Linked DNA regions of Homo sapiens: all the other regions are linked to region 3. The links are contacts of gene promoters, found by promoter capture Hi-C in human tissues and cell types (Jung and others, 2019). All regions are on one chromosome and are shown on one strand. The core of a region is centred on a gene start or on the middle of the fragment in contact, and the rest is flanking DNA. Distances in the headings are between cores, read along the strand shown. Region 1 overlaps STYX (serine/threonine/tyrosine interacting protein). Region 2 overlaps DDHD1 (DDHD domain containing 1). Region 3 holds the start of FERMT2 (FERM domain containing kindlin 2).

Evidence for each region. Contacts are between HindIII fragments. The study calls those that stand out against the background at their distance.
Region 1: a fragment that was not itself captured here is called in contact with the fragment with the promoter of FERMT2 in region 3 in 1 of the 25 tissues and cell types used here (mesendoderm cells).
Region 2: a contact is called between a fragment that was not itself captured here and the fragment with the promoter of FERMT2 in region 3, in 1 of the 25 tissues and cell types used here (aorta).

What each region holds. Positions count from the first base shown.
Region 1 is chr14:52,759,858-52,762,842 of GRCh38, reverse strand. The region is part of intron 9 of STYX (serine/threonine/tyrosine interacting protein); the gene reads right to left. Among named protein-coding and RNA genes, the nearest start is that of GNPNAT1, 30 kb to the left of the region's middle. The HindIII fragment of the contact is 4,612 bases long and covers 1-2,985 here.
Region 2 is chr14:53,115,090-53,117,969 of GRCh38, reverse strand. The region is part of intron 1 of DDHD1 (DDHD domain containing 1); the gene reads left to right. Among named protein-coding and RNA genes, the nearest start is that of DDHD1, 37 kb to the left of the region's middle. The HindIII fragment of the contact is 3,158 bases long and covers 1-2,880 here.
Region 3 is chr14:52,949,608-52,952,541 of GRCh38, reverse strand. It overlaps FERMT2 (FERM domain containing kindlin 2), which reads left to right and starts at 1,492. Exons shown (of 15, transcript NM_006832.3): 1 at 1,492-1,621; 2 at 1,965-2,130. The coding sequence starts at 1,974. RefSeq lists an enhancer at 215-793 and a silencer at 1,514-1,723. The HindIII fragment of the contact is 21,614 bases long and covers 1-2,934 here.

The sequences.
Region 1 (2,985 bases), core at 376-2,875, 190 kb after region 3:
ATACACCAAATGAAGAATGTTGTCTGAGAACTGGTCTATTGTCAAAATATATGAATGAATGAAATAATGAATAACTGAATTAGATAAAACATTATGGTCAGATATTTCACAGGTGCCATATACTAATGCATTAAGAGACAAGTAACTCCAATCTAATTTAAATTGATCCATGGCACAAAGAGAAATGGAAAGCTTCCACTAAAAAATGAGAACACTGTGACAGAGATAGTAAAACCAGAAAAGGATAGTACAGAAAAAAAAAAGAAAGACAAACCAATTTACTATTTAACTGATTCCAAAATCCTGAACAAAAAGATTAGCAAATACAATCCAGCAATACATTAACAGAACAGTCTATCATAACCAAGTGGGATCCATTGCTGGACCAAAAGGATGATTCAATATTAGGAAATCCAATCTAATGTGATCCAGTAACTCAAGTCACCATATTAACGGTTCAAAAACTAGAACTAGCCATTCCATAAGCACCTTAAAAAAGAAAACTTCAAACTTCTAAAGGACATATCAGAATTTGGTATAAAATAAAAATGATATTTCAAATCGGTAGGCTATAAATAGATTTCCATAATATAAAAAGAGCTCTTACAAACCGGTGAGAGGAACACCAACAAATGATCACAAAAATCTGATAAAACATTTTTGGGCCAGGAGTGGTGGCTCACGCCTGTAATTCCAGCACTTTGAGAGGCCAAGGTGGGTGGATCACCTGAGGTCAGGAGTTCAAGACCATCCTGGGCAACATGGCAAAACCCTATCTCTATTTTTTTTTTTCTTTTGTGACGAAGTCTTGCTCTTGTTCCGCAGGCTGGAGTGCAATGATGCCATCTCGGCTCACTGCAACCTCCGCCTCCCGAGTTCAAGCAATTCTCCTGCCTCAGCCTCCCAAGTAGCTGGGATTACAGGCACCTGCCACCACGCCTGGCTAATTTTTGTAATTTTAGTAGAGACAGGGTTTCACGATGTTGGCCAGGCTGGTCTCAAACTCCTGATCTCAGGTGATCCACCCACCTCAGCCTCCCAAAGTGTTGGGATTACAGGCGTGAGCCACCACACCCGGCCATCCCATCTCTATTAAAAATACAAAAATTACCTGGGCGTGGTGGCACGTGCCTGTAATCCCAGCTACTTGGGAGGCTGAGGCAGGAGAATTGTTTGAACCTGGGAGGTGGAGGTTGCAGTGAACCGAGATGGCGCCATTGCACTCCAGCCTGGGTGACAGAGCAAGACTCCATCTCAAAAAAAAAAAAAAAAAAAACTTTTGGCTACTGGTGTTAATTAGGGTAGGAGGAAATAGGCACTCGGAGGAATAGGCACTTTTTGTTTCCTGGTGATATAAGTTTATTATTACTTCATCTTTTTTGGAGGCAATCTGGAAACATCTATCAAATTTCAAAGGCACTGGAATCCACCAATTCCACTTCAGTTACCTTACAGGTATATTCACACAGATGTACCTATCAGGATATTTCCAATATTCTTTTTTTTTTTTTTTTGACACGGAGTTTTGTTCTTGTTGCCCAGGCTGGAGTGCAATGGCATGATCTCAGCTCACCACAACCTCCGCCTCCCAGGTTCAAGCGATTCTCCTGCCTCAGCCTCCTGAGTAGCTGGGATTACAGGCATGCATCACCACATCCAGCTAATTTTGTAGTTTTAGTAGAGATGGGGTTTCCCCATGTTGGCCAGGCTGGTCTCGAACTCCTGACCTCAGGTGTTCCACTCACCTCGGCCTCCCTAAGTGCTGGGATTACAGGTGTGAGCCACTGAGCCAGGCCAATCTTCTTAAACATATGTATATACTATTCTTTCAAATACAAAAATTAATTTTAAAAAAGAATGTTTTTACACATTTGAAAACAAGTAAGAGCATTATTGGATTGTTTGTAACACAAAGGATAAATGATTGAGGGGATGGATACTCTATTTTTCCATGATGTGATTATTACACATTGCATGCCTGTATCGAAATACCTAACCTACTATGTATCCACAAAAAAAAGAAAAGCTTAAAAAATAGTTTAAAAAAAATGAAAAAAAACAATGTTTTCTACAACATGGTAAAAGGCAAAGAAACTTACAAAGTTAGAAGACAAACATTTTACATGAACAGGCTGAACACAGATGACACTGTTTCTCTTTTGAATGTAGTAAAAATTAAAAGTAAATTAAATATTAAAATAAAATTTAAACCTTGGTAACTATAACAATATATTTTGTAATAAATATTCTTGATGTTGAAACATGAGCTTTATTCCTACATAATTGGATGTAATTAGCCAGAGCACATTCTGCAGCCTATGATTTTGCCTCTTGGAATAAACTGAGCAACGTGGTCTAATTAGGTTAATTCATAGACTTATCATCTTTGTCAGTGCATCTGCCAGGCATCAACAAAATATGAAACAACATGGAAAAGATAAACATAGAATAGAAAAAGCTGTTATAGTTAGTATACTTAGAATCAAAACTGTCTTATGCTCTGTGTGATCAAAATGAACAACAAAAAAAAATCAGACATTTCTAACAGCAATTATTTTACTTTAGATTTGATAATGTGTCTTTAACCCTTTTTTCTTGGTAATGCCAGCCTTTAAGAAAAAAAAGTTTTTTTAATTTTTTAGGGATGGGGTCTCACTCTGTGGGCCAGGCTGGAGTGCAAAGGCACACTGTTCACTGTAGCCTCAAACTCCTGGGCTCAAGCAATCCTCCCATCTCAGCCTCCTGAGTAGCTGGGACCACAGCCATGCACCACCATGACTGGCTAATTTTTTTTTAATTTTTTATTTTTTAGAGATTGGGTCTCACTTTGTTGCTCAGGCTGATCTCATACTTCTGGCCTCAAGCAATCCAAATGCCTTGTTCTCCCAAAGTGCTGTGATTATAGGTATAAGCCACCACACCCAGCCAAGAAAATACTTCTAAATAGAGATATAAACTTGAATAAAGCATCAAAGTAGTCAGATT
Region 2 (2,880 bases), core at 64-2,563, 170 kb before region 3:
CTTGATCCTTCCTCTGGAAGCTTCGTCCCAGAGGGGCACCCGCCTGTTTGAGGTGTCTGTCGGCCAATACTGGGAGGTGTTTCCCAGTCAGGCAACACAGGGGTCAGGGACCCGCTTGAGGAGGCAATCTGTCCATTCTCAGAGTTCGAATGCCCTGCTGAGAGAATCACTACTCCCTTCAGAGCTGTCAGCCAGGGATGTTTAAGTCTGCAGAAGCTGTCTGCTGCCTTTTGTTCAGCTGTGCCCTGCCCCCAGAGGTGGAATCTATAGAGGCAGTAGGCCTTGCTGAGCTGCAGTGGGTTCTGCCCAGTTTGTGCTTCCTGGCCTCTTTGTTTACACTGTGAGCTACTTAAGCCCCAGCAATGGCAGATGCCCCTTTCCCCCACCAGGCTACAGCCTCAAAGGTTGATCTCAGACTGTTGCGCTAGCAGTGAGCAAGGCTCCGTGGGTGTGGGACCTGCCAAACCAGTGACAGGAGGGTATCTCCTGGTCTGCCGGTTGCTAAGACTGTGGGAATAGTGCAGTATTTGGTGAGGAGTGTACCATTTCTCCAGGTACAGTCTGTCACAGCTTCCCTTGGCTAGGAAAGGGAAATCCCCTGACCCTTTCTGCTTCCTGGGTGAGGCGACGCCCCACCATACTTCAGCTTGCCCTCCGTGAGCTGCACCCACTGTCCAACCAGTCCCAATGAGATGAACCAGGTACCTCAGTTGGAAATGCAGAAATCATTCACTTCTGTGTCGATCTCACTGGGAGCTGCAGACCAGAGCTGTTCCTATTTGGCCATCTTGGAAGGGACCCCTATTTCTTCTAGATTTTCTGCTTTATTTGCATAGAGGTGTTTATGGTATTATCTGATGGTAGTTTGTATTTCTGTGGGATTAGTGGTGATATCCCTTTTATCATTTTCATGTGCCTATTTGATTCTTCTCTCTTTTCTTCTTTATTAGTCTAGCTAGCAGTCTATTTTGTTAATTCTTCTCTCTTTTCTTTATTAGTCTAGCTAGCAGTCTATCAATTTTGTTAATCTTTTCAAAAACCAAGCTCCTGGATTCATTGATTTTTTGAAAGGTTTTTTGTGTCCTCTATCTCCTTTAGTTCTGCTCTATTTCTTGCTTCTGCCAGCTTTTGAATTTGTTTGCTCTTGCTTCTCTAGTTCTTTTCATTGCGATGTTAGGATGTTGGTTTTCTGTCTTTCTTGCTTTCTGATGTGGGTATTTAGTGCTATAAATTTCCATCTTAACACCGCTTTAGCTGTGTCCCAGAAATCCTCACTCGTTGTCTCTTTGTTCTCATTGGTTTCAAAGAACTTCTTTATTTCTGCCTTAATTTCATGATTTACCCAGTAGTCATTCAGGAGCAGGTTGTTTGATTTCCATGTAGTTGTGTGGTTTTGAGTGAGATTCTTAATCCTGAGTTCTAATTTGATTGCACTGTGGTCTGAGAGACTGTTTGTTATGATTTCCATTCTTTTGCATTTGTTGAGGATTGTTTTACTTCCAATTATGTGGTCATTTTAGAATAAGTGCTATGTGGCACTGAGAAGAATATATATTCTGTTGATTGGGGTGGAGAGTTCCGTAGATGTCTATTAGGTCATCTTGGTCCAGAGTTGAGTTCAAGTCCTGAATATCCTTGTTAATTTTCTGTCTCATTGATCCGTCTAATATTGACAGTGGTAGTTAAAGTCTCCTATTATTATTGTGTGGGAGTCTTAAGTCTCTTTCTAGGTCTCTAAGAATTTGTTTTATGAATCTGGGTGCTCCCGTATTGGGTGTGTATATATTTAGGATAGTTAGCTCTCCTTGTTGCATTGATCCCTTTACCATTATGTAATGTCCTTCTTTGTCTTTTTTGATCCTTGTTGGTAAAGTCTGTTTTATTAGAGATTAGGATTGCAACCCCTGCTTTTTTTTCCCATTGCATTTGCTTGGTAAATGTTCCTCCATCCCTTTATTTTGAGCCTTTGTGTGTCTTTGCACATGAGATGGGTCTCTTGAATACAGCACACCAATGGGTCTTGACTCTATCCAGTTTTCCAGTCTGTATCTTTTAATTGGGGCAGTTAGCCCATGTACATTTAAGGTTAATATTGTTATGTGTGAATTTGATCCTGTTATTGTGATGCTAGCTGGTTATTTTGCACATCATTTGATGTGGTTTCTTCATAATGTCATTGGTCTTTATATTTTGTTTTGTTTTTGCAGTGGCTGGTATCGGTTTTTCCTTTCCATATTTAGTGCTTCCTTCAGGAGTTCTTGTAAGGCAGGCTTGGTGATGACAAAATCCCTAGGCATCTGCTTGTCTGTAAAGGATTTTATTTCTCCTTTGGTTATGAAGCTTAGTTTGGCTGGATATGAAATTCCGGGTTGCAAATTCTTTTCCTTAAGAATGTTGAATATTGGCCCCCACTGTCTTCTGGCTTGTAAAGTTTCTGCAGAGAAATCTGATGTTAATCTGATAGGCTTCCCTTTGTAGATAACCTGACCTTTCTCTCTGGATGCCCTTAACCTTTTTTCCTTTGTTTCAGCCTTGGAGAATCTGATCATTATGTGTCTTGGGGTTGCTCTTCTTGAGCAGTATCTTAGTGGTGGTCTCTGTGTTTCCTGAATTTGAATGTTGGCCTGCCTTGCTAGGCTGGGGAAGTTCTCCTGGATAATGTCCTGAAGTGTGTTTTCCAACTTGACTTCATTCTCTCCACCACTTTCAGGTATACCAGTTAAACTTAGGTTTCGTCTTCTCACATAGTGCCATATTTCTTGGAGGCTTTGTTCATTCCTTTTCATTCTTTTTTTCTCTAATCTTTTCTTCATGCCTTGTTTCAGTCAGGTGATCTTCAGTCCCTGATATCCTTTCTTCCACTTGATCGATTTGGCTATT
Region 3 (2,934 bases), core at 243-2,742:
AGTGGTTTTCCCTATTTTTTTTTCTGCCAAGCCTTTGGCATCTGACTAAATTTTGCTGCTTTCACTCCTTTCTGAGTTCCACCCCTTTCTTGAGGCCTCTCATCTTGTTTCCCAGTAATGTTAATGAACAAAAGGTTATCTGCCTAGCGAGTTCCTTTTCCAAGCGTTTGAGACAATTCGACAAGATTATGAGACTGCGAACTGGAGTCTTTTATCTTTAAAAGGTATTTTAATCTGAGCCTTCTTGACGTTTATTTTCTGAGCCCATGAATTTGCTAGCGAGGCAGTTTCTCTGGTTTGCTGTTTCTGAAAGGAGTTCCCTCAACAGAGTACAACAGTTAATGGGGGAAGTGGAAACAAAAGCGGGAAGCAGGAGGACCGTTCCCCATCACTAGCCAGTCTTCAACAGGTGAAGTTGTTTAGCTCTTCCTGGTACCTGCAGGCACCGTTCCAGAAGTATTAAAATCCAAGGTGTGGCTGAGGGTGGGATGGAACATGTATCTCCATCTAACAGCTTTAATAGACTGTTAGTTCTAACTTGCATATAAAAACACACAAATAAGTACAAAGAGCTGGAGAAGCTGGGGAAACAGTTTCTGAGTAAAACCTGTGGCACTAGGTTGTGTCTTTCCTTTCCCCTCAGGCAAGAGCATCATCTGTTTGACTGGCATCTGGCTGGAGCGTCCGAAGGGGTTAAGAACGCTTGCAAACTCCTGGGAGTCCAGTAGGAGTTGCTGATGGTGCCGGACATTGCTTGCAAAGCAATTTTTGTGGTTCACCTCCCTCGGGGTTTTCTTATTCTTTTGTAGGACATTCAAGGAGTTGGTTTGGGCATTTACTTTTTAAAGTTTCTCCGTCCCAGACTCCTCTCTCCAGCTCCCGGGGTGCGGCACCTCTCACCTCCCTGAGGCTTTTTGTCTCGCTGCAGGCGTGGGGAGGGGGCGAGAGGACTTTGTTCTCCGAAAACGACCTTGCCCTGGGAATTTCCTGGGGCCGTTTCTCACGGACAAGCCCCCTCTCCCTGCTGCCAGCGCGGACACACGCCGCGGGGGCCCCAGTCCAGCCTGAGCTCTAGACGCCCCGCCGGCCACCAGCGCCCCGGGAAAGGCCGCCCGCGCTCCCCCGCTCCCCCTCCTCAGGGCCCGCCGCCTAGAGCCCGGATGTTGGATTCAATTCCTGAGCCGGGTCCTTCATTTCCATAAAAGGGCAGCGCTCCGCGGGGCCGAGATTGCCGCCCCGCCGCGCCCCCCGCCACCCCCGCGCCGCCCCGCCCCACGCCGCCCCGCCCCGCCCGGGACCCGCAGCCCCCTCCCCCGAGCGCGGCGCCGGGAGGGCGGGGGCAGAGGCGAGGCCGGCCGGACCCGCTCAGGGCAGCTCTGCGGGCGGCGAAGGAGGGAGCCAGCGCGCCCAGCCCAGCCAGGCTCGGACAGAGGGGGCGGGGAGAGGGTGGAGCGCGGGGAGCCAGGCGAGGGGCCGCGACGACGGGACTCCATTAGCCGCTCCGGCCACAGGCAGCGCTTCGCCAGCCGAGGAACCGGACGCGGACACCGCCGCCCCGCGAGCCTCCAGCCCCTCGCCTGTTGCCGCGCGAGTCCCGGGCCCGGAGCGCTAGGAGCGCGCGGTGAGGGAGCGGGACCCCGCCGGGACCCGAGGGGGCGCGGCGGGGAGGGGAACGGGGAGTCAGCCCGCGCTGTGTCTCGGGGCCGGCCGGCAGGTGAAGCCCTCCGCGGTCCGCTAGGCGGGGACGGTGTGGGGCGGGCGGCGCCGGGACCGAGGAACGCTGCGGGGCGAGCGGGGCGTAGGGTCCTCCCGCAGCCCCGGCCGCCGCCGCCCTCCCGAGTTTCTGCCGAAAGCCCCGGGTCCTCCACCACCTCCCAGCCCGTGGCCGGCGCTGCGAATTCGGTGGGATTCGCCTTTCTTTGGGGGAGTGACGCTTACGAGAGCCATTTCCTCCGCGCTCGCAGGAAGGAGCCATGGCTCTGGACGGGATAAGGATGCCAGATGGCTGCTACGCGGACGGGACGTGGGAACTGAGTGTCCATGTGACGGACCTGAACCGCGATGTCACCCTGAGAGTGACCGGCGAGGTGCACATTGGAGGCGTGATGCTTAAGCTGGTGGAGAAACTCGGTGAGTAGCATCCCAGCCGCGTCCAACTAATGACTTCCCAGAATTGGTAGGGGGAGGAAAGAGGCTCACGACGGGGGAGGGGCCCATTTGAGAAATCTTGGCATCTCGCAAATGCTTTTTGGAGATGTAAAATCTTTCAGTATTTAAGCAGATAGACCTGTTCCCCTTTGCGTCTTATTTTGTTTTGCTATTCTCTGAATTTTCATATGTAATGATTCGAGCCTCCCAATTATAACCTTAATTGCGTAGTTACGCGGGACGGGGGATGTGTGCCGGGGAACTCGTTAATTCTTAACATTTACTGACAGAACGATAAAAGAATGAGGAAAGTGTGTTGGGAGGGTGATATTACAGTGTCCGTGGTTATCTATGTCTTCAGCATACCTGAATGTTAGTGACGTTTGGTATAGAGAATGATGCAAAATCCATTTAAGAAAAATCTGTGCTGGAAAATGTGCAACTACTGGCGCCAGTGTGAAGTTTCTGTGGCTGTTCTACGTGGTGGAGTGCATTAAAATGTTCCAGTCATCCACTCTTACTAGGGGTGGGGCAGTGCTTGACAAACTTGGTATCCATAGTCCATGCTCGATGTAAGCCGTTTCGAGCGTTCGGTTTTATATTAATAACAAGCCAAGGAAAGAACTTTGTGTTAAAAAGCAGACTTTGTTAAACTAATTTGAGGTTGACGGTGTTTGCTTGAGTACAAATATGTATTGGATTGATATCCGATTTAAAATAATAAGGTATCTTACAGTATGAAGTGTGTGAAGAGTGTGCAGTACACATTTTTGTGATGAATGAAAC